Linked DNA regions of Homo sapiens: region 2 is linked to region 1. Evidence: promoter capture Hi-C in 16 types of primary human blood cells and fetal thymus (Javierre and others, 2016). All regions are on one chromosome and are shown on one strand. The core of a region is centred on a gene start or on the middle of the fragment in contact, and the rest is flanking DNA. Distances in the headings are between cores, read along the strand shown.

Region 1 (7,601 bases), core at 3,635-6,134:
GTCAGAGGAAGTATAACGCTTCTGCCAACTTAAATTTGTTCTTTCCAAATCCACTTATTTGTGAAAGGTCATTTGGCAGAGGTAAAATCACAATCTTTCACTGAAGTTACTTGAGCACAACTTTGAAAAACCGTTTGTCAGAAAATCTTGTTAAGCCTCCAGTTAAGCAGTCGTTCTTATAATATTACCATGGATTAGGTCATTTATAATTTATCTTTAGTCAAACGAACACCATGTGGTAAAGCCTGGAAGAAAGTCTGGGTTTATTTCCGTTTGTCCCGTTGTGGGGAATTAGGACCTAAATAAATGCAACAAGGTGCCCCTAACTGCAAAGTCACACGCAGTGCTTTTCTCTGCCTTCCTGCACGCTGCTATAGTGTGCCAAAGGAGACCAGCAGAGGGGCTGAAAGGAGTCTGAATCACAGGCCCAAAGGCCCAAACCCATTACCACATTTCTCTAAAACATACATGCTTCTCGATTTACGATGGGGCTACATCCTGACAAATTCCTCCTGAGTTGAAAATATATTTAATATACAGTAGAGTACCTGTTGTTTACTCTCACGATCACATGGCTGACTGGTCACAGCTCACTTCCATTGTCCAGCATCCAGAGAAAGTATTTTACTGCATATTATTAGCCCAGGAAAAGATCAAAATTCAAACCTTGAAGTATGGTTTCTACTGAATGTCTATCGACTTTGCACCATTGTAAAGTCCAAAAGTCCTAAATAGAACCATTCTAAGTCGGGGACTGTTGGTATATGCCATAAAACTTTTTTTAAAAGAAAAAAAGGAAAAAAACATCTATTCTTTTTCCTGGTTAAGTCATTCAGATCTTGGGTTCATCATCCTTAATGAAATAAAATAATGTCCATATTATGGAGGTGTAGTGAAAAACAAAACTAACTTGCAAAGCTCTTTGCGAAGTGCTTAACACACGTTATGAACATCACAGATAATGATTATAAACTCCTACTCTCAATAACAACCCCAGGACTGCCAAAGGCAAGCAGGCAAGCACAGTCCCAGGGATTCGGGAAACCTTCATTAGTCTCACGCCAGTTCCTCTGTTGGTGAAAACCCCAGCAAGAGCTGAGAAACAGCATTCTGGGTTGGACACATGGAGATAACTAGGAGGCCAGGACCTTCCTCTCAAGAGGAACCGGAACCAGAACTGGAAGTCCAAAATGAAATCTAAATCCACTACCCTCCGTCTTTCTCAACTCAACTGAAAAGGACAGGATTAGAGATCTACGGGTCTTAGACATATGCCACTAAGATCAGTAATTAACTGCTTTCTATGAAGCAATTTTGATAACTGTCTTGTGAATAAATAGCTATCAATCAGATATTCATAGTTCAGAAGACTATAATGGAGTGGAAATCAAAATGAAAGATGAATTGAACTTTCTATATCTAAAACCTCATATAAGTAGCATCACTCAGAGGAATGTCAGAAATCTCTTATAAGAGTAGATGTTGACAAACATAATCATATACTATAAGAAAAATTGTAAATAGAACAGCTTCAGACTTGCTATTCTCTTTTGTTCCCATCATGTCCAGTTAATTTTACTTTTGCCTGCCTTACTTTTTTGACACTGTCTTGTTTGTGTTAACATCCTTCAGAGAAACATTTTAAGACTTTTCAGTAAGTCATGCAACCACAAATAACTAGAAATAGGAATCCAGTAAATGCAAATATAAGTCGAGGAATAAGGAGATCTTCATTCTATTTGTGATTTTTACCTACAATCTTTTGCATGGCTTTACGGGTGGGCTGAAGGGCTGGATGGCTAACCTTGGTTCATAGTTTGTGTGCTATTTTTGATTTTTTAAATATTAAAAAAGTTCCTAGGTGAAAGTTATGAAAACATTGCATCTATTGGGATTATAGATATTTAGCATCTTCTGTTTACCTTCTGAAATATTTTCTTGGGGTTCATGTAGTTATAGAAAATTAACAATTGATTTCTCCCCAGTTCTTCTCTAGTGCTTAAATCTAAATGTGGTGCTTGTACAGGCCACTAGGGAGAGACATAGAGTCTTCATATCAGTTTCTTGGCAGTTGTGTGACATGTTTCATAGCAAGGACACAGCAGTTTCACTGAATGCATTAATGACACATGCCCTGTCAAGGCTCTATTCACCCACTGGGGAACGACACTTTAATGGAGCAATGAAATACTGCTTTGTGGTCTATGGAACTCAGAGATGATGTTTCATATGGGAAATGATGTTTCATCACATAGGAAAGGAACCCACATCACATGCAGAATACTAACCCATATTCACCATACAGAATATAAAAATGGTTAAATATGAAAAGCGACATTTGCAAACAAAAATGCATAGTGATTTTCACAGCAATGGTAAAATTTGCCATATCACCAATGGCAAATTTTACATCACCAACGAAGACACTTTTGAAAGTTAAAAATAAGTTAACTTTTTTAATCCTCCAATCCCATACCTATACATAACACACGTAAACACACACACACACACACTCAAGGTACATTAATTCTAGACTCACCCAGCAGTGAGTGACTCTCATACAGGCTATTGGCTTATCAGGGAATGTTTCTCATTTTACTCTCTACTGCACATTTTCTTACTGTAAACCAAAGTAAGTGACCGTAACCAATACAGAGATGTTGCCTTACTAAATCATACTTTTACTAGTTTTGACTTTGCAGAAATAGCAAATAGGTACTGCAAAATCAAGGACTCAAATTATCAGAAGCGTTATTGAGCCGATTATTACATTTCTGCGGTATTTAAGAACAGAAAGATATTTTCATCACTATAGTTACGGCAATGTAAGTATAGGCACTGAAAATTATTTTTGTGATTCACAGAATGCAGTCTGTTCTATTTCATGTATATTGTTTTTACTCAAGAGGCATTCCTTTAACCCCTATATTAAATTATTACACATTCCAACATTTTAATGTTTTCCCAAAATTTAAATGCAAAGGTAGTTTGATTTCCAAAAATTAGTCTTCTCAATCTTTAAGTGTATTTCAAAATATAAATATAAATAAAATATTTCAAAATATAAGGCTATTTTCTACACATTGTGTATGTGTTAATCAACAGTCAAATTAAAGTTGACTGTAACACACCACAGGTACCTCTCCACTTGCCACCAGTTGAAATAAACTACCGCAGTATAGTTCCAGCAAGGGGTACTGCAAGTGTTTGAACTGAAATGTCGAATATAACTTCTTTAGGAACTCTCTTAAGCATACTCTATATGGTTATGGCAGGTATGAACTTTTTAGATAAAGATATACTCTTTTGGAAGAGCCAGTAAGAAGTAGGAACACACACAAATCCTTTTTCAAAATCAGGATGCCTCAAAAGTATTTTGGCAACATTTTCAGGCAAAGGATTAAACACCTCTTATTTAAAAGAAAACAAAACAAACAAAAAACCCAAACAAGAAAAAAAAAAACTTAGTTTGCAGTATCTCATGACCAGATTTTAGGAATGAAGAGCTTATAAAGTTGAAACAAGCCTTGCATTGCTTGATTGTGATCTAACTGACTCTAATCTCCCGTTACATCTCAAGTCTGACCAACTTCAAGTGAACTCTGAAAGCTCTGGAGCCTGGTTACTAAAGTCCCTGACACTTTTTTTCTAAAGTCGCTCACAGCGCCTGGTGCTCTGCAGACTATGAACACTCCAGGAAAGTAAGGCTGGGTTGACTGATCACCAGTGTCCCAGAATCTGTTTGGAGTCCCATGAATCAGCTGGGGAAAGAAACGAGCATTTCCCGACCAAAATGAACTCATACTCTCCAGAGCCCCGCTGACTGGGCAGGGTTCAAGACCCCTTGGTTGCCCCAGAGGAAACCAGTCTGAAATAGATTTCGGGATCTCTCACTGGGCACCTCTCCGGGCCCTTCACTCGTGTAACTTGCTTGCCTCTCTAGTAACAACTTTCTATTTAAAAAGAAGAAGATTTTTCTCCAAAGCAGCGTGCACTGAGCTCAGTAACTTTGGATCCCACGTACACAAGCTTAAAGCACACACACTTTCCCCCGCGCAGGTTCTCGGGTCCGCCGCAGACCCTAACGCAAACTCTCGGGTTCTCCGCAAACCCTAACGCAGACCTACCGTGGCCTCGCCCGCGTCGGGCTCCGCGTCCGAGAGGTCGAGTCCGGACTCGAAGGCGGCGGCGGCGGCGGGCGCCTCGCGAGGACCCGGGAGCAGCGCAGCGGCGAGCAGAGAACACGCCACAGAGAAGAAGCCCAGCAAGTGCATGGTGGAAGGACCGGGGGTGGGGGACCGGTCCGCTGGCGGGGGCAGGGGTGGGGGCGCGGGCGCCCCTGCGAGGCCGCGGGCCCCTCCTGGTCCCTCTCCCCCGGGCTCCTCCCGGCGACCCCCCCTGGGCGAGCCGGAGGCGGCGGGAGCGGGTCCGGGGCTCCGCGTTCCCAACTTTGCAGGGCGCCCTCCCAGCCAGTGCCGGGGAAAGGCGGCGGGTGTCAGGTAAAAGCCTCACAGGAAACCGGACATCCGAGCTCCCCGCATTCGGAGCCCGCGAGGTGAAGCGAGGGCGAGGGAGGACGCCGCCGCGGTCCGCGTCGGTGTAGCTTTTTGGAGAGGCGGGGCGGGGGACACCAGAACACCCCGCGATGTTCAGCCCCTCCAAACCCGCCAGAGCCCTCGTCCCCCTCCTCCCTCCCCTTCCCCGAAGTGAGAGGAGCCGGGCCGCGGGCGCTGCGGCGGGGGCGCTGGCGGCGGTGCCGGGGGCGGGAGGAGGGCGGCGGGGCGGCTGGCGGCGGCGGGGCCCGGGAGCGCCGCGGCGCAGGATCCTCCAGAGCGCGCCGGGCTGAGCGGCGGCGGCGGCGGCGGCGGGCGCAGGGGCAGGGCATGACTGACGCGCCCTCTGCCTGCGCTTATGTGAGAGAAAGCGGCCGAGGGAGGGAGCGTGCCGAGCCCGGGCTGCCCTCCCCTCTCACTCTCCCTCGGAAGCCGTCTCCCTGGAGCTCCCCGTTTCCCTCGCCTCCTCCCCGGCGGCCCCACCTCCCCCGGCCCCCCTCTGGATCTCTCCCTCCCCGCCCCTGTCCCCTGCGGGGAGCGGGCGGCCGGAGGGGCAAGTTCAGTCCCGGGGCTGGCGGTTGGCGGGACCGGCTTTAGAGGTGATGCGACCACCCTGGACCACGTGCAGCGGGGAGAAACTGGGCACCGTGGGGTGGAGGGAGCCCCCGCTTTATCCTCGGCCACTCCCGAGTTCTTGTCCTCCCTCCCGCACGCCTGGCCCCCAGAGCCCTGCTCAAAGTTTGGAAATGTCCTGGGGGTTGTAAAAGTTCCAAGAAAAGGTCATCACTATGTCAGAGAACCCTATGGGACCTCGGAGGGGTCCCCTCTCTCCCTTGGTCTGTGTAGTTGAAAGTTGCCTGATGATCCAAGAACCGCAGTTCTCAGGATGCAGTGCAGGCTGTTGGGATGGATGCTAATGATCCCTTTGGAATCCTAAACTTCTGACAGGTGAAGAGAAGGGCCAGAATCTTCGTGGAGAGTAAAGAGACACATTGTCAGCTTCTGCAAGAAGTTGGTTTACTTGAAAAAGGGGGTGATAAAGAGAGATGTGTGTGAGACATATTCCAGAAAGGATGTGTAGCATCCAAAGAAAAGTGACTGCATTTCCCCATTGGAAAAGCACTGGGGTTTCCGTTGGGCTGGTGGCATTGGCTAGCTGCCTCCTTGGGGCAGGGTGAGCAGGTTACAGAGGACCACGCTAAGGGGTTTCAACAGTGTACAGAACATCAAAAGTCTGCCTTTCACTCCCAATCTACTTTTAAGTACACAGATGTTATAGGTCCATAATATCTTACCGGAAGAAGAGACTTTCTTATCTGGTTCAACTCTAGATTTGAAACTCCTCACCCATAATTTACTTGAAGGCTTAAATATCTCAAAGGACAGGGAACCTTCCATTCTGTGTGGCTGTTCACTCCCTTTATTGATGAGCAACACTGCTGAAAAGCATTTCCTTCTATCTCTCTATTGCTTTTGACTCCTGGAGTTTTACACAATAAATCTAATCTCACTTCCACAACTGAGTCCTTCAAATATTTTGAAAATATTTATCATGGTCTCCCTAAGCTAACTTTACTCCTGGCTAAATATCCCTTTTATTCCCCAAGATGACAGTTCCAGTTTCCCCCCTTAACCATACTGTTAGCTTTCCATGTTCATGAAGTATGCGGTTGAGAACATGGCTCGGTACTTAGTGCTGTAATGAGCATGCAGAATGGACAGTATGCCTTTGTTGATACAGCCTTGGATTGAGTTTATTTTCTGGCAGCCAAATCACAGTGTTGACTCACACTACCCTTAAAGTCAACAAAATTCCTCAATAATTTTTCATATGTACTGCTACTTAGTCACGTCTAAATTCCCCTGTATTTGTGGAGTTAAGTTTACTGTATCCAAGATGCTTTTTTATGTATCTTTATGAAATTCCATCCCATCAGACTCGGTCCATGATCTAGCCTGTTGAGATGTTTTGTGATTTGGAACATGGTCAGTGTATCACTCTCTTGCTGTCTTCCTGCTCTATGCATATTTGATCAGCCTGCCATAGTTATCTTCAGACATTGATAGATCTGTGAAAAGGGAACAGCTAAGGGCAGACTGGGGTAGGATTTGAATAGAAGGTGGAGTTTCCATTCAACCATTTGCTATTACAATGATTCTAAACTTTGATTGCACTTGGCATCACAAAAGGAGATTTTGAAAAAACAGATGCTTGAGTACACCTTCTGCCTTTCTGGCTTAACTGGTCTAACTGGAGTAAGGCTTGGACATCAGGATTCTAATAGGCAAACAAAATTGAGAACCACAGGCATTTCCAACACCCACAGGCCTAGCAGCGGGTGAAGACTGGAAAATCAACAAACTCAAAATATATCCAAAATATATTAATATCATATTAACTACTGTTTCATTTAAATACAGCAGTAAGCTGTATTCAAACTTTTTTCTCACAAAAGTGTTATCTTCCTGCTGCTATACTTTGAGTCAGAAAATGCTGGCAAAAAGTTTATTTGAATAAAAAAAAGGTCTCCAAAAACAATCATGCAGTAGTTGTTTGTCTTAAGGTTGGTCGGGCACGGTGGCTCACGCCTGTAATCCCAGCACTTTGGGAGGCCGAGGCGGGTGGATCATGAGGTCAGGAGATCGAGACCATCCTAGCTAACACCGTCCATCTTAGGGAGACCATGATAAATATTTTCAAACGTTGGTGAAACCCCGTCTCTACTTAAAACACACACACACACACACACACACACACACACACACACACACACACACACACACACACACAGAATGTCTTAAGGTAAAAACGAATAGTTGCTCAGGACTTTTTGGTTTTTTTTCTTCCTTACCCCCTGGAAACACTTTTTGCCACTAGCAGATTTTAAAGGTTGAGAAAGTCCTTTTCACTGGTTTGTGAGTTCATCACTAGCTTCATGCAAGACCTATTTTACAACAGGTCTTCTAAATCTGGTTATTCAAAAAGCATTGCTCAGTCAGTGGAGAAAGAGAGGTAGCAGGGCCCCAGCCAGAATAACACCTCTTTTA
Region 2 (7,601 bases), core at 2,210-4,709, 530 kb after region 1:
GCCCCTCTGTCCCTCCCCGCAAGTCCCCAAAGTGTAATGTGTCATTCTTATGCCTTTACATCAGATGTAACTTATAAAACCTAAAGGGGTAAAGGAGATTAAAGCACAGGAGTGGCAGTAGTAGCAAATTCTTTCCTACCGAAGAAGCAGGGAACGCTACTATATATGAGAGAGAGAGAAGGGTGTGTGTGTGTGTAAAATGGGATAATATTCATCACCTGGCCTCTGCTGGGAGCTCTAAGAAAAGCTAGAAAATTTCACAGGGTATGGCTAAAACAAGTTGCTAGTAAAGAATGTTGGAAAAAGATAAGAGATTGTTGACATTGGAGTGGTGGGGAAACAAGGCTCTCACCATTGACTTATAAATGTGGGTTTAAAATGTTAGTAAGAACTTAAATCTGAGATCCTGAAAATGTACAACCTAATCTATATTGAGACAAAGATCTATATCTGCTTTGTATATCATCATCTTAAAAGTGTCCTGGCAAGTTTATAGGAACTTTTTACATACTAATTGGTTGTCATGGAAACCTACCTTAAAACCCACTATTGTAATCTATACTTGGCCTGAAGTGTATTTAAGTGACTTAAAGTCTCCTGTTAAGGAGAAAAGCATCAAGATTCTTGGTGTTTGTCAATTCAGGGCTCTAAAAGATTGACTTATATAAAAAGAAGGCAAATGTGTTTTTTCCTCACTGAGTACTCAAGCCTGCCTTCCCAGTGCTTGATAATTATTGATAGGTACTAGAGTTCATCCCAGAAAGGGCAACCAAAGACTGAGCTTTGAGGACATGGTGGCATATACCTACAGTCTCCAACAGGTTCTTTTTTTGTGATTTGTGCAGAACAGGAAGTGACTGCTGTCTTTTTTTTTTTTTTTTTTTTTTTTTTTTTGAAACGGAGTCTCGCTGTGTCTCCCAGGCTGGTGTGCAGTGGCGTGATCTCGGCTCACTGCAAGCTCCACCTCCAGGGTTCACGCCATTCTCCTGACTCAGCCTCCCGAGTAGCTGGGGCTACAGGCGCCCGCCACCATGCCCGGCTAATTTTTTTTGTATTTTTAGTAGAGACAGGGTTTCACGGTGGTCTCGATCTCCTGACCTCGTGATCCGCCCGCCTCGACCTCCCAAAGTGCTGAGATTACAGGCGTGAGCCACCGCGCCGGGCCTGCTGTCATTTTTAATTACTCCTGTGCATTTAATTTATCTGTCATTCTAAGCCAGTGATTGATTCTCCAGTTCTTAAACAAAGGAGGGATATATAAAGCCAGTCGCCTGAACTTCAGGCAGTTGGAAAATTCTGGCATTGACTGTAGCTATTTCAACCTTGAATGGGTTTAGTGGAAGAATAGTGTCTGTCTCTTTTTTTTTTTTTTCTTTATCTCCCTGTTATCTCTCTTTGAGCTAAGTACTGTGATTGTATCTTAACAAAGACCAATTTAGTGAAATAAAGAATAGAGTGGACATGTCATCTTAAGCATTTAGAATGACAAATGTCTGTAAAATCAAAAGTTTGAGAATCACTGAACAATATCATTTCACTCTAAATTGAGGAAAAATTGTGACTTGTTTCTAGACTCTGTATCTAAAGCTGTTTTATAATTATATCTTGACATTTCCCCACTCCCACTGCCCACCAAGGTTTCGTTCAGAATCTTCTGAGGATCCTTAGGCCCATTTGAGAAAAACACAAAAGAAGTTAGAGGTAAATGAGGATATTACCTTAGACTGAGTTAATGCGTAGATGTAATTCTGTGTACCCTATTTTATCTTATATAATAATTACGCATGTCTTAAGTTTTACATTTTTATTACATTTTGAGTTTAAATTAAATAATGTTTATAAAACATATATAAATAATAAAAAATAATGACATAAGAAACACCAGTATACATAATGCTCAGTTTAAGAAAAAGGGCATTACTAAAATCTAAACCAAACGCCCTTTCTTTTCTTCTCCCACAGAAGAACCTACATTTTATATTTTTGTTTTCTGTTTAATTCATGTTTATAATTTCCTCGAATATCTTATAGGATTCTGCCTATATGTTGTCATTCTAACAATATATTGTTTGGTTTTGCAAGGCTGATGGGGGAAAGGGAATATGAGTTTATTTTTTCTTTATTCTTAACATTGTGCTTGGAATAGGACAGGTCTCAAATTAGATTCCCCTACTCAGGGGGCCGCAGGTTTTTATCTCTGATCTCCTGCACCCTCACAAGATGTGAAAATTGAAGCTCTCATTCCTTAGTTTCATGTGAAAATTGAAGCTCTCATTCCTTAGTTTCAATCAATGCCCTTAGGATAGATGCTGGCTTCACAGCTCTCCCTACTACCTCTCAGGGTTCTCTCCCGCTTTTAGTTTTTGACCTTTTATTATTTCATACTAGCTTAAAAGTTCATCGGTGAAGTTAAAAATATTTTGTTTTCATATTTTATCATCTGTCATTTGTAGCTGTTTTTATCTGACCACTCTTTCAGGGAACTTGGCTATATACTTCTGGAAATGGAAGAACCTATATTCCAGTTTTTAGTTTTAGAACATTCGTGTTGTATTCCTATGCTTTCTTTTCATATGCACAGAGCTATATGGTCCTGGAAGAAACTTTATTTTGCTTGTCTACCAATTACTTTTTTTCACTTAATTTTTTTGGCCTCTCTCTCTTTAAATGACTGCATAGTGATTTGACAAAATGTATGTAAACAGCCGATTACATTACATGACTTGTTGGAGATTATTCTTCTCATTGGAATGCACCTGGGCGTGAAGTAATATAAACACATTTAAGAATTAAATAATGCTTTTGCTTAGAGTTTGTGTGTGTGTGTGCTTATGTGTGTACATGTATTTTCCACTAGGCTGCTGCACTGAATAATGATTCCAGCCAGAATGTCTTGAGCCTGTTTAATGGATATGTTTACAGTGGCGTGGAAACTTTGGGGAAGGAGCTCTTTATGTACTTTGGACCAAAAGCTTTACGGTAAGATAAGCCTGTACGATACATCTTATCTCTCTATATTTAAAGATGCGTAGAAGGCTAGATGGAGTTTGCCGGGTGTCACATTTAATCATATAGGAAGTACTGTGTTTTTAAGAGAGCTCCAATATGAGAGGTTGTGATTCTATCATGGAAATCAATAAACAGCAGAAGAATAAATTCTGATGTCATCATCACTTGGAAGACAGTCATTTTACAGGGCTTCCCAAGATGTATTAGAGCAACACATCTGTTTTGCTAGTCCCCAAGCTTCCTATACCACAAGTCTCTCCTTGTTTTTACCGAATGCTTATTGTATTCAGTGACATCGGTTACTTTATATTTGTGACAGGCCCTAGTTTGGTTTAAATGTATCACTTGATCTTTAAATATTTTTCTGGCTTCCTGCTTTCTCTGAAGCCTTGAATGGAATTTGGAAATTTACTTAGAGAGTGTAAAAACTTTCCAGAGAAATAACAGGTTCTCCATTGTTTCACAGTTCCCATGGAAATTCATGGCTAATATACTGGCAGAGAAGGACTAGCAACCTATTTCCTTTGTTGACTTAATGATAAAAAAGTCAAAATATATGTAATTGTGATGCATGATCACATGTTTAATTTTTGCAGGAAAATGAAAGCGGCCTTTGAGTTAATATGTCTACCCAATCTCATTCTGTCTTTTCTGAGTTTAGCCTAAGCTTTTGCCAACTGTAAAAATTGATACTGCTTCCTCAAATCGTTTTTAGTGCTGTTTAAAGATACTGACCACAGTTATCACCTTTTTCTTAAAAGAAAAGACCTGTTCCTGGACCCCATGCTAACCAAAGGTGAATAATTGTCACAAAGAGATGATACTATATGATTGTTCTTTATTGCATCTCATCTACCACATATTTAGAGTAATCCAGGGTTTATGTAATTGCTTTTCCTTTGAGGTGTTCTCTTTTCATTGTCAGCAGCTGCTGTCCTTGGACAACATTGTCACTTCATGGTTTTGCTTAGTCTGGAATTGATAACATCAGCATATGCCTAGTTGTTCATGCAGTAATGATATATTGCAGGTTACACTGCTGCTGTAGTAGACTGATGTGATGGAAAACTCATAGCTCTGGATAGAGTAGTACACAATGGGATCTATGCACGATAGTTGAAAACATTGATATGTTATTGATTCTCTGGTGTTAGGTACAGATTTATTTCTGTAAGATGAGAGGGGGTTTTTATCAAGTGCTCTCCACCAGACTGATAAGGGGGAAGTCATTTCTCAGCACACGGCTGTCAGTAAGTGTTCCATGAAGTTCTAAACAAGGACAATCACTTCTTCAAACTCATTGAACTAGTGCCCTCCCTGGAGAGTACCTATGTCAGTATATGGGTGGGAAAAATGCAGTGGCTTGCTTCCTTTCAGTTTCCTGCAGCCATAACAACTATTGGATGTAACAATTCAAGGTCAATGGCAGATCTGCTGTTGGAATCTGAACCTAAAATCATTTGCCCCTCTTTTCACAATGTAACAGAAGTTCAAAAAATGTACTTCCAACCTGTGCTTCTTAGAGGAATGGATAACTCTCTCAAAGAAATGTGATCTTTTTGTGAGGCTGCAGGTCTGTGCACCTGCAATAGAAATGTAGTCTTCATTTTTGACTTCTGCCTCCCACCCACCTGGCTCATCTGCATTTGATAGAGCATATAGCAGGAAACACTTTCAAAGGTTGCTCACAGTTTTCCCTTGATACCCAACTTTTCACAAGCAAAATTGCCCGCAGAGTTTAGTCATAAAGTGTGTGCATCTCATAGGTTGGGCCATGAATCTCCTGGGATTCATTGGTTGAATCTCCTGGGATTCATTTGTTAATGAAAGTAGAATACGAGCATAGCCTCTAAAAGAATCTGCCCTGTAAAAATCCACACATCAGAAAGATACAAATTAGAGAGTGATTACTTCTCTACCTACTAAGTGATATATTCAAGTGCTCCTGATAGTGCCAAGGAATACTAAAAATTATTTGATACACATTTATTTTAGGAGCACTATTGTGTTATGTGTGATTAATACCTGTACAACTTCTGAACACTTTCCACTAACTCTTCAACTAAAACAACACAAACGTCACTTGAAGTTTTTGCTACAAATGTAACAAGTACTCAGTAGAGAAAACTGAAAAATAATGAAAATAAGTGTAAAGTAATACATTCTCAATCCCACTACCAGGTGTAATCTTTATTAACTTTGGATGCATACAATGCCACATTGCCAGTATAGTGTGTGCGAATGTTTATATGCATGTTCACCCAGCTGCACTCACACTGAAGCTATCATTTTAATCAAAATGGACATAGCTGTTGCATTTTGGACTAAAATTTAAAAAACAGATAGATAGATAGATAGATAGATAGATAGATAGATAAGTAAATATATTTTTCCAAGACCATTTTCTGTTTCCAGTTTGTGATTTACATGACTCTGGCTTTTGAAGTTATATGTGCTCAGAGACCAGAAACTATATCTGAGATATTTTGGAGGCTTTGCCATTTTAGAAATGCCTTATACATGATTGATTTTATAATTTATTGGGGTTTAAGTATGAACCTCAAACCAGTTATGCAAGAGATAATATAATGATTCTTTTTAGTTTGCTGAAATGTCTTTATTGAATCCATCATATATTACTTATAAAAGAGTTTTACAGCTTCAACATAGTTTCTGTACTATCATATAACATGTTAGGAGAAATAGAAGTGTACTTTTACTCTGTATAATACTTTAAGATTCATTCATACTGTTTGAAGTATCAGTGGTACTTTCTTTTCTTTTACTAAGTAGTCTCCCATTGTATGAACATACCATATTTTGTTAATTCATTCATCAGATGATGGACATTTGGATTGTTTCAAGTTTTTAATATTGTGAATAAAATTGCTATGAATATTCACATACATATGACATATATATGTGGACATACATTTTCATTTCTCTTGGATAAATTACCAAATGACTTAGAAATTCTAAGTCATTTGGTAAGCATATGTTTGACTTTAAGAGGAATTGCCAAACTGTTCTTAAAAGTGGTGGTACCATTTTACATTCTCACCAGCAGAGTATGAGAATTTCAGTTACTCAGCATCTTTGCCAGCACCTGGTATTGTCAGTTGTGTTAATTTCAGCTATTCTAATAGGTGTACAGTGTATCTCACTATGATTTTAATTTTCTTCTCCCTACTAACTAATGATATCTGATGCAATATGCATATTTCCTGTTTGTGTATTTTATAGGGTGATGTGTCTATTAATGTTTTCCTTTTTTATTGGATATATTTTTGTATTATTGAGTTATAGTATTCTGTATATATTCTAGATGTCAGTCATTTATCAGATAACATGTTTTGCAAGTATTTTCTCCCAATCTATGGCTTTTCTCTTCATTTTCTTAACCATATCTCTTCAAGATTAAAAACTTTTAAGTTTGATGAAACCTAATTTATCAAATTTTTTTTTCATGGTTCATTCATACGTTTTGTGACCAGTCTAAGAAACATCTGCCTAATGCAAATTAATCAACATTTCCTTGTTTGTTTTCTTCTGGAAGTTTTATTGAGTTAGCTCTTCTGTTTAGGATTATGATCTATTTTGAGTTCTTTTTTGTATATGGTACAAGGCAGGAGCTGGACTTTGTCTTTTTGCGTGTGTATTTTCCAGCACCATTGTTGACGAGATTATCCTTTCTCCATTGAATTTCTTTGCAACTTTGTTGAAAATTAGTTGACCATATATGTATGGGTCTATTTCTGAACTCTGCATTCAGAAGAATATCAGATAAAGTGATATTCTTTTATCATTTTTTGTGTCTGTCCTTTCACCAATAATACACTGTCTTAATTAAAGTAGCTTTAAAGTCAGTTTAAATTAAGTAGTGTCAGTCGTCTGACTTTATTCTTTTTTTTTTTCAAAATTGTTTTTGTTGTTTTAGTTATCTTTCTACATTTTAGACTTAGCTTGTTGATTTCTACAGAGTTCTTTCTGGCATTTTGATTGGCCTTGTGTTGGATCTATAGATCAATTAGGTGATAATTCACATGCTAACATTATTGTCTTCCACTCCATGAACACAGTATATATTAATATGTATTTAGATCTTCCTTCATTTCTTTATCAGTATTTTGTAATTTTCAGCTTCAGACATATTTTATATTTGTAACTAAGTGGGTTTTTTTGGAGCTATTGTAAAGGGTACTTTTTTAAAATTTGAATTTCTAATTGTTCATTTGCAGTGTATGGAAATACAATTTTTGTGTGTATATTGACCTTGTATCCTGCAACCTTGCTGATATGATCTGGCTCTGTGTTCCCACCCAGATTTCATCTTGAATTGTAATTCCCATGTGTCGAGGTGTGGGGGGGCATGTAATCCCCTTGTGTCAAGGGAAAGAGGCGACTGGATCATGGGGGCTGTTTCCCCCATGCTGTTCTTGTGATAGTGAGTGAGTTCTCACTAGATCTCTTGGTTTTATAAGGGGCTCTTCCCCCTTCTCTTTCTCTTCTCTCTCCTGCTGCCATCTGAAGAAGGTCCTTGCTTCCTTTTCACCTTCCACCATGATTGTAAGTTTCCTGAGACCTCCCAAACC

Evidence for each region. Contacts are between HindIII fragments. The CHiCAGO score rates a contact against its expected background, and 5 or more counts as called.
Region 2: a fragment that was not itself captured here is called in contact with the fragment with the promoter of VEGFC in region 1 in 1 of 17 cell types (endothelial precursors); the score reaches 5.7 in endothelial precursors.

What each region holds. Positions count from the first base shown.
Region 1 is chr4:176,788,038-176,795,638 of GRCh38, forward strand. It overlaps VEGFC (vascular endothelial growth factor C), which reads right to left and starts at 4,885. Exons shown (of 7, transcript NM_005429.5): 1 at 4,128-4,885. The coding sequence starts at 4,274. The HindIII fragment of the contact is 3,942 bases long and covers 4,028-7,601 here.
Region 2 is chr4:177,319,602-177,327,202 of GRCh38, forward strand. It overlaps NEIL3 (nei like DNA glycosylase 3), which reads left to right. Exons shown (of 10, transcript NM_018248.3): 2 at 2,858-2,979. Among named protein-coding and RNA genes, the nearest start is that of NEIL3, 14 kb to the left of the region's middle. The HindIII fragment of the contact is 430 bases long and covers 3,245-3,674 here.